Regions from separate parts of the Homo sapiens genome. Here region 1 is linked to region 2. The links are contacts of gene promoters, found by promoter capture Hi-C in human tissues and cell types (Jung and others, 2019). All regions are on one chromosome and are shown on one strand. The core of a region is centred on a gene start or on the middle of the fragment in contact, and the rest is flanking DNA. Distances in the headings are between cores, read along the strand shown. Region 1 overlaps LOC338694 (a long non-coding RNA gene). Region 2 holds the start of PPP6R3 (protein phosphatase 6 regulatory subunit 3).

Region 1 (7,003 bases), core at 4,339-6,838, 690 kb after region 2:
CCTCTTGGTATTGTATGGTGTCACTATGATGTCCCCAGCTATGGATTGCTTATCACTCATCCTAGGTTGGATTCTTTGGGATGCCCAAATCTGGGGATTGATGTTTTTCATCTGTTCTAAAAACTTCTCAGCCATTTCCCCTTCAGATCTAGCCTTTGCCCTATTCTATTCTCTTCTACTGGAGCTCCTAGGACCATACAGTGTAGCTTTTACTCCACCCCTCATGCCTCTTGGCAGCTCCTTCTTGTCTCCCATTGTCTCTCTGTGCTGTATTCTGGGCCATAGCTCAGATCTGTCTTTCCGTTCACCAACATAATTTTCAGCCATGTCTGACCATCTGTTAGTATCACTTAATATATTTTCATCTCTGGAATTACATTTAGGTCTTTCCAAATCTGCTTGGTCATTTTATAATCTCTTGTTCTTTATGTTTTAAATATTTTCTCTTAATCCTTTAATCATGCTTATTTTATATTATATTCTGATAATTTTGACAGGTCTGGGTCTGATTCTACTTTCTGTTGTTTCTTCTGACAGCAAAAACCTTTTGATAGATTATGTTCATCTAGAGGTTATTCATGCTAACATCTCCAGCTGCACGGTGGAGCTTTATTTTTCTTCTTTTATTTTTGGTTTTCTGTTTTTCTTTCTTTCTTTTCTTTTCTTTTTTTTAAACTCTTAGCATGGTGGAGCTTTATGGCATATTCTGAGCAATGTCCTGGTTTCTATTGCCTTCAGTTGCATTGCCCAATGTGGGACAGGAAATCTCACATACACAACAGCTTCTTGTTTCAGTGCTGCATTGTACTGCAATATTTTTGAAGATTTGATTTAATTTAATTTAATTTTATTTCCCGAGACAGAGTCTTGCTGTGTCACCCAGGGTGGAATGCAGTGGCGCAGTCTCGGCTCATTGCAACCTCCACCTCCTGGGTTCAGACGATTCCCCTGCCTCAGCATCCCGAGTAGCTGAAGTTATTTAAAGTGAAAATTAGGGATTCAAACTTAGGTTATGAGTCAACCACGTGTGGGGACGCAAGGCAAACACCCGGTAGAGGTTGAATAGATTACGGTTTATGCTCAGCTGGGTTCATACAAAAGCAGGGAATGGCAACTTTATTTCTGTCTCCTCCTTTCTGCAGGATCTGAAAATGAGTTTTAATATCTACTAGAAGCTATACTTGATTTCAGAATTATCAAAGTATGAAAAATACATGCCTTAGAACTGAGGACTTATGGGATTCTAAGTGTGCTGTGCCTTGAGGGAACCCCAGTGGCCTTTGATCCCACATGGGCCATCAAATAGCGAGTAATGTCCCTACTTTGAGTGGTCATGTCCATTCTGAAAGGTCCACCAATTCTCAGTATGAGGTCCTCTGAATGTGCTGATGTCTGGTCACACACGGGGGATCAGTCAGGCTGGGCTAAGTCAGTTAGGTGACACATGACCCCATGGCGCAGTAGCTCTCAGCAGCATGGGTGGATTTCTCGGCCATGTTACGCATCCCACCTGGGTCGGCTGAGACTGCTCCATGCACTCTTCACTCCAGGCAGGGCAGCCTCCTTCCTGGAAGGAAAAGGAAGAGGGAAAAGAGAACGTTGCAAACCATGCCCTGGCTTATTTATTTATTTATTTATTTATTTATTTATTTATTTTGAGACAGAGTCTCGCTCTGTCGCCCAGGCTGGAGTGCAGTGGCGTGATCTTGGCTCACTGCTACCTTCTCCTCCCGGGTTCAAGCAATTCTTCTGCCTCAGCCTCCCAAGTAGCTGGGACTACAGGAGCATGTCACCATGCCTGACTAATGGTTTTTGTATTATTAGTTGAGACAGGGTTTCACCCTATTGGCCAGGCTGGTCTCGAACTCCTGACCTCATGATCTGCCTGCCTCAGCCTCCCAAAGTGCTGGGATTACAGGTGTGAGCCACCACACCAGGAAGCGACAGGAGTATTTCCTCCCTTATCTCACTGGCCACTCCTGAGTTCAGTAGGGTGGGGACAGGCAGTCGTCCTGCAGGGCAGGGAAGCCGGGGCATGGGGGAGGAGTGATAGAGCCACCTCCCCTGGCTCAGCATCTTTGCCTGGGGCTCTGCTCAGTGACAGGAGCCTGGGTGTGAACTTTCAAGTCAGGGATCCCAGAGGCAACAGATACGTTCCACCTCTCTGAGCCTCGCATGCTTTACAAGTGCCAGAAATGGACGTTGGATACGGAGGCACCGTGTGAGTTGTCACACCCTCTGTGACTATACAGGTTGTTGGTGTTTTCGTCTTTGTTAATCGCCCAACAGTGCTCACTGCTAAGGAAATGTAACAAAATGTAACGTGACGTTCAGTGTTCAGCGGGACTTGGAAATGTGTTGCACGTGTGTGTGCAAATAGGTTAGAGGTGGGGGCCGGCCACATGTGCTCTGCTTCTCGTCTGCCTTCTTGGAGCGCCCACAGTCATGTGTGTACCTCAGCCCTCAGCGGGTTGGTCAAGCTTGGACTTTGCCTGTGGAACCAATGCAGGGGCTGCTGAGCTCTTCTGATTCTCTCTCGGGAGCCTGGGGCTGGGAGGCCAGCAGCAAAGTGTGGGTGCTGGACTTATTTATGGGTGAGGCTGACAGTGCCTTTAGGCTCAGGCAGAGCAGAGGGAGCCAATGAGCAGAGAGAAAGAGAAGGTGGAAGAAGTCAGGCAGAGAGACCCAGTGCCTTAGAAGGAGAGGTGGCCACTGTGCTTCCTGGTGAGGTTCCAGGGGATGTGCCTGACCTAGCCCCCAGCCGGGGGATGTACCTGGGCTAGCCTCCAGCCACGGGATGGGCCCAAGCTAGCCTCCAACGGGGGTCATGCTGTGTTTGGAATTGGTTTCTTCCGGTGGATTCTTGGTCTCCCTGACTTCAAGAATGAAGCCGCAGACGCTCGCGGTGAGTGTTACAGTTCTTAAAGATAGTGTGTCTGGAGCTTGTTCCTTCAGATGTTCAGATGTGTCCGGAGTTTCTTTCTTCTGGTGGGTTTGTGGTCTTGCTGACTTCAGGAGTGAAGCCACAGATCTTCGCAGTGAGTGTTACAGTTCTTGAAGGTGGCACGTGGGAGTTGGTTGTTCCTCCCAGTGGGTTCATGGTCTCGCTGACTTCAGGAATGAAGCCACAGACCCTCGTGGTGAGTGTTACAGCTCATAAAGGCAGTGTGGACCCAAAGAGTGAGCAGCAGCAAGGTTTATCATGAAGAGCGAAAGAACAAAGCTTCCACAGCATGGAAGGGGACCCGAGTGGGTTGCCGCTGCTGGCTTTGGTGGCCAGCTTTTAGTCCCTTATTTGGCACCCCCACGTCCTGCTGATTGGTCCATTTTACAAAGCACTGATTGGTCCGTTTTTACAGAGTGCTGATTGGTGCAATTACAAACCTTAAGCTAGACACAGAGCACTGATTGGTGCGTTTTTACAGAGTGCTCATTGGTGCATTTACAAACCTTTAGCTAGACACAGAGCGCTGATTGGTGCATTTTTACAGAGTGCTGATTGGTGCATTTACAAACCTTTAGCTAGACAGAAAAGTTCTCCAAGTCCCCACTCGACCCAGGAAGTCCAGCTGGCTTCACCTCTCAATGCCTAGGCTAGCAGCTAGCCACAGGACAAGCCCCAGCTAGTCTGAAGCCAGGGGTCACGCCTGGGCTAGCCTCCAGCCAGAGGATGTGCCAGAGCTAGCCTCCAGCGGGGGTCATGGCTGGGTTAGCCTGAGCAGCCTCCTCTTCCTGGTAAGTGAACACTGTCACCCACTGACAATGGAGTCTCTGGGAGGCTCTGAACACATGTCGCTCAGGGTGGCTGTGAGACCACAGCATTTCTTTCTCTCTCTCTGTTTTTTTTTTTTTTAACTTTTATTTTAAATTCAGGGGTACATGAGCAGGTCTGTTACATAGGTAAACTTGTGTCATGGGGGTTTGTTGTACAGATTATTTCATCACCCAGGTATTAAGCCTAGTACCCATTAGTTATTTTTCCTGATCCTCTCCCTCCTTCCCTCCCATCCTCCAACTTCTAAACGGCCCTAGTGTCTGTTCCCCTCTTTGTGTTCATGTGTTCTCATCATTTAGCTCCCACTTATAAGTGAGAACATGCAGTACTGGGTTTTCTCTTCCTGCATTAGTTTGCTACGGATAATGGCCTATTGCTCCATCCATGTCCCTGCAAGGGATGTGTTGTCATTCCTTTTTATGGCTGTGTAGTATTCCATGATATATATGTGCCACAACTTCTTTCTCCATTGATGGGCATTTAGGTTGATTCCGTGTCTTTGCTATTGTGAATAGTGTTGCAATGAATGTACATGTGCAGGTATCTTTATAATAGAATGATTTATATTCCTTTGAGTATATACCTTGTAATGGGATTGCTGGGTCAAATGGTATTTCTCTCTTTGGTCTTTGAGGAATTGCCACACTGTCTTTCACGATGGTTGAGCTAATTTACACTCACACCAACAGTTTATAAGTGTTCCTTTCTCTCCAGAGCCTCACTAGTATCTGCTGGTTTTTTTTTTTTTTTTTGACTTTTTAATAATAGCCATTCTGATTGGTGTGAGATGGTATCTCATTGTGGTTTTGACTTGCATTTGTCTAATGATCAGTGACGTTCAGCTTTTATTCATATGATTGTTGGCTTCATGTATGTCTTCTTTTGAAAACTGTCTGTTCATGTCCTTTGGCCACTTTTTAATAGGGTTGTTCCTAAGCAAAAAGAAAAAAGCCGGAGGCATCACTCTACTCGGCTTTGAACTATACTACCAGGCTACAGTGACCAAAACAGTATGGTACTGGTACAAAAACAGACACATGGAGCAATGGAACAGAATAGAGAACCCAGAAATAAGACCACACACCTACAATTATCTGATCTTCGACAAAACTGACAAAAAAAGCAATGGGGAAGGATTCTTTATTCAATAAATGGTGCTGGGATAACTGGCTAGCCATATGCAGAACATTAAAACTGGACCCCTTCCTTACACCATATACAAAAATTAACTCAAGAGGGATTAAATACTTAAATGGAAAGCCCCAAACTATAAAAACCCTGGAAGACAACCTAGGCAAGCCTTTCAGGACATAGGCATGGGCAAAGATATCATGATGAAGATGCCAAAAGCAATTGCAACAAAAGCAGAAATTGACAAATGGGATCTACTTAAACTGAAGAGCTTCTGCACAGCAAAAGAAAGTATCAACAGAGTAAACAGACACCCTAGAGAATGGTAGAAAATTTTTGCAAACTATGTATCCGACCAAGGTCTAATATCCAGAATCTATATGGAACTTAAAGGAGACCACAGCCTTTCTAAGGTGACAGGAGATTTTCCTTGTGGCACATACTTGGTGACTACAGGGCACCTCCCAGTAGCTCAGTTCCACTTTCAGAGCCCTGGAGCATCATGGGGTTCTCATGCCCATTGTCCTTGGGCTGGGGTCCTGTTCCAAGGCACACTCCTGCCCACTCTCGCAAAAATCATTTTGTGTGCACATGGCAGGCCTCAAACATGTCTCCCTGTCTTTGTCCCCACTGTTTGCCTTCTTGTTTTATTTAGAAATCAAGAGAGAATCTAGGCTTGGGAAATGGCAGAGATTTCCCCAAGCTTAGCACAATTCTTTTATCTTTTTTTTTTTTAATTTAATACCATTAGGTCATCTCTTTTAAAAGAATTTCTGGGAAAATCTTTATTTTGTGTATTTCTCAAGCATCTTGACATTCCGTCTCAGAGTAATGGCCCAATCACTTCCTCCCAACTCCCCTTCAAATTCCCTGTCGGCTTTATCTCTTGCAAATGGCTCGGTGCTGCAGAGCAAACTCCCCGTCCCCGGCCCCTCCACCCCCCTCTCTGGGGACAAAGAAAGGGCCCCATACTCTCACTGAGGCCTTTGGGCAAACCAGATACATCATCACAGCCTAAGACAAGGAGGAGGCCCGGGACCCTTCAAAGATGCCTGCTCCAGAGTCCGCACACAAACCTCTGCCTATTAACTCTTTCAAAGAACGTTTGTTGGCTGCGAAAGTCGTCTGGGTTCATTGATAAAAAAAAAAAAAAAGATATTGTCTTTAGGGCTGCTGAATATATTAATGAGTTGTCACGGAGGACAGTTAGGATTTGCAAAGGGTGATAGTTACCATTCACCTACTTGTTGCCTTAAAAGATAAAATCATGTGCAAATGAAGACAGAGCTTTCAGGCACCTCCGCCAGAACACACTTCATTTGAGGCGACGGCAGGGATGCTACTAAAACCCCAAAGAGTTAAGCTGAAATGGTTAATATTCCTGTCTCTGCCCGCCTCCTCCTGTATTCTAATGTATGAACCCGCTCATTCAGATGTGAGTGGGACTTGGGGACAGCTTGCCTTCCCTACGCGATTGTGTATGGCCCCCGCTGAAATGTTCCTAAAAACACGATTTTGTAAACGCTTATGCTCCACCAGACATCCAGCGCATCTACTGGATGCCCAGCGTCTACACCAGACGCCCAGCGTCCCGAGTGGGGTTCACTTTGTCTCTTCACACCCAGGGACTCTCAGCCTGAGGTGAGGGAAAGGAAGGGGGGTTATTAAGAATTCTGACAAGGTAGGCTGAATAAATTGTGTTTTCTTTGTGAGCCTTAATCCGGTGTTGTATTGGCTTCTGGACATGGCTAATTTATTTGGAATTTCATTCTGTTCCTGACAGCGTCCTTGACTAGCTGTTTGATCACCCCGAGCAAAGTTACATACCAGCTTTCAACCGTTGGGAGGGCAGCGGCGTCCTTTTTCTCAAGTGCCTTCTCCTGGGTCGGGCTTTATGCCTGCAGCAGGGCGTTTCAAACGGCTGAGGCCATCCCTTGTTAGGGAGAGAAACCTCCCGGGCAGGGGTCTCCCTCAATGAGGAAGCCCTCCACTTCCCCCCACTCGTCCCACTGTTCGTGATTTTAATCTGCTTTTGTGGCGCAGGAAGAAAGAAAATTAATTTTCGCCCGTCTGTGTGTAGGGAGCATTTCAGTGGAA
Region 2 (6,846 bases), core at 466-2,965:
CGGCTCACTGCAAGCTCCGCCTTCCGGGTTCACGCCATTCTCCTGCCTCAGCCTCCTGAGTAGCTGGGACTACAGGCGCCCGCCACTGCGCCCGGCTATTTTTTTTTTCTTTTTGTATTTTTAGTAGAGACGGGGTTTCACCGTGTTAGCCAGGATGGTCTCGATCTCCTGACCTCGTGATCCACCCGCCTCCGCCTCCCAAAGTGCTGGGATTACAGGCGTGACCGCGCCGTGACCTCCTGTGGATTTTCATGGGACTCTGAGAGGCGCCTCAAATCCATTTTGGAATAAGGCAGGTTATTAGCATGGGGTCTAACCGTGGGCTGTCTCGGTGTCCTGGGCTGGCTCTTGGGGCGGGGGTCCTGATGTCCGGGACCTCGGTCCTACCTGGGAGGCACAGATATGGCGGGGAACGGGAAGCCCGGGGGAGCATTTAGAAGCTCGTGTGCACAGGGAAACCCTGTCTCTACAAAAAAATTAAATTAGCGGGGCCCAGTGGTGCGTGCCTATGGTCCCAGCTACTCGGGAGGCTGAGGTGGGGGGACTGCTTGAGCCCAGGAGGTGGAGGCTGCAGTGAGTCATGATCACCCCACTGCACTCCAGCCTGGACAACAGAGCAAGACCTTGTCTCAAAAAAGACCCCAGGCCAGGCGCGGTGGCTCACCCCTATAACCCCTGCACTTTGGGAGGCTGAGGTGGGCGGATCACCTGAGGTCAGGAGTTCGAGACCAGCCTGGCCAACATGGTGAAACACCCGTCTCTTCTAAAAATACAAAAATTAGCCGGGCATGGTGGCGTGCACTTGTAATCCCAGCTACACGGGAGGCTGAGACAGAACTGCTTGAACCTGGGAGGCGGAGGTTGCAATGAGCTGAGGTCGCACCACTGCACTCCAGCCTGGGGGACAACAGGGAAACTCCGTCTCAAACAAAACCAAACCCCAAAAGTTCTCGTCTAAGTCCTTCTCCCAGGACAAGGGCACTTATCTCTTGGCGGTGCGTCACAGGTAGGGATATTCCGCGATCCCTCACCTTGACCCCGCTACGAGGACAGCCACCTCTTTCAGGTAAAGAGATCGCAATGGGAAATCATTCTGATAAAAATTCCCCTGTGGAGAATGCAGGCATCGATCCCGTTACCTCTCACATACTAAACGAACGCTCCTCCACTTAAGCTGATTCCCTAGCCCGGCCTAACCTTTGCAGCCGGCGCATATTGTGGCTCACGTCACCACCGGTGTCCCCCGCCGCCCCCGCCCCGCCCGGCCAGCTCGCCACCCTATTGGATCCCTCACGGCTCCGGCTCCACGGCCATGATGGGCTTGGCTCAATTTAGTTTTAAAAAGCATTGGCCACTCGGATTGGTGGTCCGAAGCGTCCGTCAAGCGGAGGACCTGCTGTTGCTACGGCGTAGGGGGTCCCAGCCAGGTTTCTCCCCGTTTCTGATTTGTTTCTCAGGCTCCGGGGTCCTAGAGGTTCCGGATCCGTCAAGTCCATGGGAAAAGAATGCGCCCCTCGCGCTTGACTGACGAGGCTTGCGGGCCAATCGGAATGTAGTCAAAGGAGCCGCTAGGCGATCCAATAGGTAGTAGGGGGCGGGAGAGAGGGGCCAATGAGCCTGGAGCTGGGGGCGGGGGCAGGGCCGCGATTGGCTGAGAGGCGGCCAGAGGGCGGGCGGGGGGGAACTCAAGGCCTGCTTGATACGTCCGCCATTTTGGGCGCTTCGCTGATGGTGTCGGTGAGCGCGTTTCCCGCCTGAGCGCAACTAGCGGCGGGTCGTGGGCACCTCCAGGTAATGGGGGTAGGGGAGGCGCCGGAGCAGGCCGCGGCGCGGGGTGTGCGAGGCGCGCGGGCAGGCGCGGGGCCCCTCCACCTGGCCTCAGCGGCTCAGGGAGGGAACGTCCCGGCCCCTCTCCCCTCCCCCCCCGGAATTCGTCGCTCCGCGGGCCCGGGAGGCGCGGCGCCGAGTCCTTCCCGGCCGCTCCCCGTCCGCTCCTGTTAGCCGGGGGCCCCGCCAGGACGGGCGCCGGGAGCGGGACGCGGTCGGGGCGGCGACTTTGTGCCTCGTTGACGTTCGCGGCCTGGCGCGGCGGGCGGGCGAGGCGCGCCCCTGACCCGGCTCTGGCTCCAGCCTTCCCGCCCGCCGGCCGCGGCCCGCAGTCTCGCCCCCCGCCCGGCCCGCGCCCGGTCTCCGCTCCCGCTGGGCCTCCCGGGGGCCTCGGGGAGCGCGTCAAGTTGAGGCAGCAACTCGCCGTCAAGAGTCGCGAAGACCATTGTTGGACTCTGCTCTTCGGGAAACAAGTTTTGTGGGTTTCTGTTAATTCGCCGCAGAGTCATCGGGATCCACACCAGCCAGTTCCGAGGCTCCCAGTACCCTTCCCAGTGGCTTTTTAACTCCTGTGAGGTGGCTTGTATGTAAACTGTCTCGAATGCCTCCCTGGTGTATTTGAGCCGGGGGTGGGGGGGGTGGGTGGTCCTTCTTGTGGCTTGAAGTCCCTCCCTCTTAAAGAAGCCCATTCACTGTTTACTTGGAGGTGTTTCCTGTTGAGGTCCTGCTGGCTGTGATCACAATTTAGACTTTTTAATTATAGGTGAACGGGATGGGTCTTTGGATGTACCTCCGTGCCCTGACGTTTCAACCGCGTGACTTAATGTCATTTTCCTGGTACTTCACGTTTTCTCTGTGGGGCTTTGGGTCTGTTTTGCTTTTATGGGAGGGGGTGCTTGACAGGCGTTCCCTTTCATCCTCGCAGCACTTGTTGACGGGGTGGTGTCCTTTATTCGTGGGACGTTTACTTTGATTTTGTCCTCAAGGTCATGTTGCAGATAGGCTTCAAGGGGGACAGGGACTCCAGGTTTCCAACCACCGAACTGTGCCTCAAGTAGCAAGTGTATGAGACCCAGTTATGGTGGTGGTTGGGTTTTCCTCACTGTGGAGTGGAGTCAGTGACCACTTTTTAGCTCTGTGACCTTGGGCAAGTTACCCAGCTTCTCTTTTTTTTTCTCTGTAGTATGGGAATAATAATAAGTGTCCCAGCCATAAGTTTGTCAGGATAATTGCCCTAATACATGTAAAACAGCTAGAGCTGTGCCTGGCACATACAGTCACCTCAGTGGCTGATTAGTGGTTAGGCTAGTTAATGGCTATTATTGTTTAATTTAAATTTGATTTTTAAATGTTTAGGTACTATTGGGAAGTCAGATGAGCATTTGAGTCCCGACTCTTGGTGACTGCCTTTAGAAAGCTCTGTGTAAGACTCAGTTGGGCTGAAAAAGTAAAACTATAAGTTATTTTAATTTTTTCAGGACAGGGTTTTTGACCATTCCTTAAATTAGGAACATTTACCGGAGTAATTAATGAGTAGTAGCGCCTCATAATGTTTAAAGAGATGGTTAAATACAGAAAAGCCCATCACAAGCTTAAGTCGGGCTTTGTTCCTCATGTGCTTTTGGATACTAGTTTCTGGGTGACTGCCACCCGAATCAGTAACTAGGGTTTCTTAGTGTAAGTCCTCCTTGTTACTGAAAACTGTAAGGGTGCCGTGGATTGCAGTATTCTTCAGCAAAGATAGTTTGGGAAATAGCTTTTGTCCTGGAGGGATACTTTGGAAGGTATTCTCCACTTCAGCATGTCTGGTCAGGGAGTCTAGAACATTGAACAAAATGCCTGCACTCAGTCAGAAATAAACTCACAATCCTTTACCGCTTGCCCGATACTCTCCTCCATGGTGCTCGAAACCTTGCGTGCACCTTCCCCTGGTATTGTTGTGTTTACTTGGGACTTGGTTTGCTGTATTGGAGATGTGTGTTTTGATGGACTCAGTCTTAAGTAGAGATGAGTATCTTGCTGGTGGAACTTAAGGACAGGAAGAAGATTGTTTTCGGTTTAGAACTCTAGCCTTTGTGTAAAGTATAGCAAAGCAAAGTCAACAAGCAAAAAGTTGTTAGTTTCAATGAACTAATTGAGAATTTGAGAATCAGACCATAGCTGAGCAGAAAATGAATAGAAGTAACATTGACAGGATGAGGTTGCCTAGCTTTTTAAGATAAAGCTTTGGCCGGGCGCAGTGGCTCACGCCTGTAATCCCAGCACTTTGGGAGGCCGAGGCTGGCGGATCACTTAAGGTCAGGAGTTCGAGACCAGGCCAACATGTGAAACCTTGTCTCTATTAAAAATACAAAAATTAGTCGGTCATGGTGGCGTGTGACTGTAATCCCAGTTATTTGGGAGGCTGAGGCAGGAGAATCGCTTAAACCTGGGAGGCGGAGGTTGCAGTGAGCCAAGTCCAGCCTAGGAGACAGAGCGAGACTCAGTCTCAGAAAAAAAAAAAAAAAAAAAAAAGATAGGGCTTTGCACCTATTTGGTAGATTATGTGCTTGTTACAAATAAACATCTCTTTAAAACAAGTGTCACGATCGGTATTTTATTTCTATGACAACTTCCATTGTCTAGTTCTATATTTTCAGTATTTGAGAGGCAGCCTCTGTGTGTGTTTGTGTGTGTGTGTGTTTTGGTCTAAAATTTTACAGTATTTTACTAAATAAGAGTAAATGATAGTGAAAATAAAGCTCTTCTATCTGCTCAACTAAAACTCAGCATTGACTTGGTCCTTAGAAGTTATGGTCTGCACCCCAGTATTGGCTGCTACTTTTTCTAATGTACTGAAAAAAAGATCTGGCCTCTTGGCTTTAAACAGCTTTCATATTTCTTTCCTTTCTTAACTTCAAATGATTGTCTTTTGATTTACTCTAGTTCAAGAGTTCTCAGTTGGGGGTGGTTCCCCCCTCACCCCCCAGGAAACATTTGGCAGTGTCTGGACATATTTTTGCTTGTTACACCTCTGGGAGTGGGCAGTGTGCTTCTGGAGGGTAGAGGCCAAGGATACTGCTAAACATCCTACAGTGTCCAGCATAGCCTCCTCCCTGCCCGCCAGCAAAAGTATCCAGTCCCAAATAGCAACACTGCTGAGGTTGAGAAATCCTGCACTTAGATAGATGTGAGACTGGCCTACATTAGAATAAGCCTGCATTAGAATAATTAGAAATTTTTTAAGACCATGGATGTTGGACTCCACCTCTGGAAATGGTGGGATTGAGAATCTTATTAATTTTTTTTGAGATGAGTCTAGCTCTGTCGCCCAGGCTGGAGTGTGGTGGTGCCATCTCGGCTCACTGCAACCTCTGCCTCCTGGGTTCAAGCAGTTCTCTGCCTCAGCCTCCCTAGTGGCGGGGATTACAGGCACCCGCCACCATGCCCGGCTGTTTTTTGTATTTTTAGTAGAGATGGAGTTTCACATCTTGGCCAGGGTGGTCTTGAACTCCTGACCTCGTGATCTACCCGCCTCGGCCTCCCAAAGTGCTGGGATTACAGGTGTGAGCTACCATGCCCGGCCACGAGAATCTATTTTTTAGAAGCTTCTCAGACAATACTGAAATGCAGCTGAATTTTGGAACCACTGTTTTACACCACAGGTTTAGGGACTGTTTGTGAGTTAAGGGTTCCTTTCGGTGATCTGTGAACTTGGTCTTTGCAGTACCTAGATCCTGCCTTGGAGATTATTTAGTAGTGGGGATTATTTAGATGGTATACTTAACCATTTTTCAGATGCCTGAAGACTGAACTTTAGAAGCATTTGTTAATTGATTTTATAAAATATCTTAGGACTTTTTTTTCTTAACCTCATGAAAATACATTACCATACTGTGCTGAAACTAAGCAAAATTCTTAGATATTTAGAGTTTGCTTCTGTGCTGAATAATCTTACACTACTGTAATTTTTGAGTTAGTATCTTTTGCCCTCCTTTTGTCAGTCAGTGGTCAGGTCTGGTTTTAGATGCCAGCTTCAACTTTTTTTTTTTTTTTTCGGAGACAGTCTCACTATGTCACCCAGGCTGGAGTGCAGTGGCATGATCTTGGCTCACTGCAACCTCCGCCTCCTGGGTTCAAGTGATTCTCCTGCCTTAGCCTCCTGAGTAGCTAGGATTACAGGTGCGTGCCACCACACCTGGCTCATTTTTGTATTTTTAGTAGAGATGGGGTTTCACCATGTGGGCCAGGCTGGTCCCGATCTCCTGACCTCAAGTGATCCGCCCGCCTCGGCCTCCCAAAGTGCTGGGATTACAGGCGTGAGCCACCATGCCTGTTTTTTGTTTTTGTTTTTGTTTTAATAAAGACCTATTCCCAGAGAATTAGCCCTGGATCAGTTTACCAGTTCTGCCCATTGAGGGCACAGATAGGCATACAGTATGCTCAGCCTTTAACACAGTGATCCTGCCCACTGGTAAGTTGGACTCTTCTGTGCCCTAGACTCTGATCCCAGCAGAGAAGTGTTCTTTTCTCCTGGGGAGATGAGATGCAGTGGTAGAGAGAAGGGTAGATCTTTTTTGCTCATATTAAAATTTAGATTATCTAGTTTATGGAATGGAAGAATATTAGGAAAACTATAAATTTTTAGCAGCTAAATGTTAATATCTGAAGTTACAAAAGGTCATGGAGGCATTTTCTTATTCTTCATCCTGAAATTCGGCCTGTGCCTATGTTGAGAACTACCAGTGACCACCATCTACTTCTAATATCCATTTATTTCATCAGCAAATACATTAATTGAGTCCTTACTCTGCTAGGAACTGTATTAGGGATTCACTGATGAACAGGCCCTTAAGGACCTGCAGTCTAGAGGAAGAGGCAAACAAGAGACGACAAAGCTGTTAAGAATTGTACATGGTGTCAATGGGGCCTGGGAGGAAAGAGCTTCTGTTTGCTGGTCAGTTGGTTGATTTGTTTAAACTTTGGGTGGTTGAGATTGCCAGAAGTTTTGCAAAAGAATAAGATAGTTACACTTTGTTA

What was found. The method cuts DNA at HindIII sites, captures the fragments that hold promoters and counts their contacts. A contact is called where the count stands out against the background at its distance.
Region 1: a contact is called between a fragment that was not itself captured here and the fragment with the promoter of PPP6R3 in region 2, in 1 of the 25 tissues and cell types used here (dorsolateral prefrontal cortex).

What each region holds. Positions count from the first base shown.
Region 1 is chr11:69,146,174-69,153,176 of GRCh38, forward strand. It overlaps LOC338694 (a long non-coding RNA gene), which reads right to left. Exons shown (of 3, transcript NR_104161.1): 3 at 1,055-1,567. Among named protein-coding and RNA genes, the nearest start is that of SMIM38, 6.3 kb to the right of the region's middle. RefSeq lists an enhancer at 2,538-3,037. The HindIII fragment of the contact is 5,475 bases long and covers 2,852-7,003 here.
Region 2 is chr11:68,459,037-68,465,882 of GRCh38, forward strand. It overlaps PPP6R3 (protein phosphatase 6 regulatory subunit 3), which reads left to right and starts at 1,716. Exons shown (of 24, transcript NM_001164161.2): 1 at 1,716-1,791. RefSeq lists silencers at 1,127-1,276, 1,587-1,956, 1,967-2,016, 2,067-2,176 and an enhancer at 1,387-1,446. The HindIII fragment of the contact is 5,146 bases long and covers 1-3,734 here.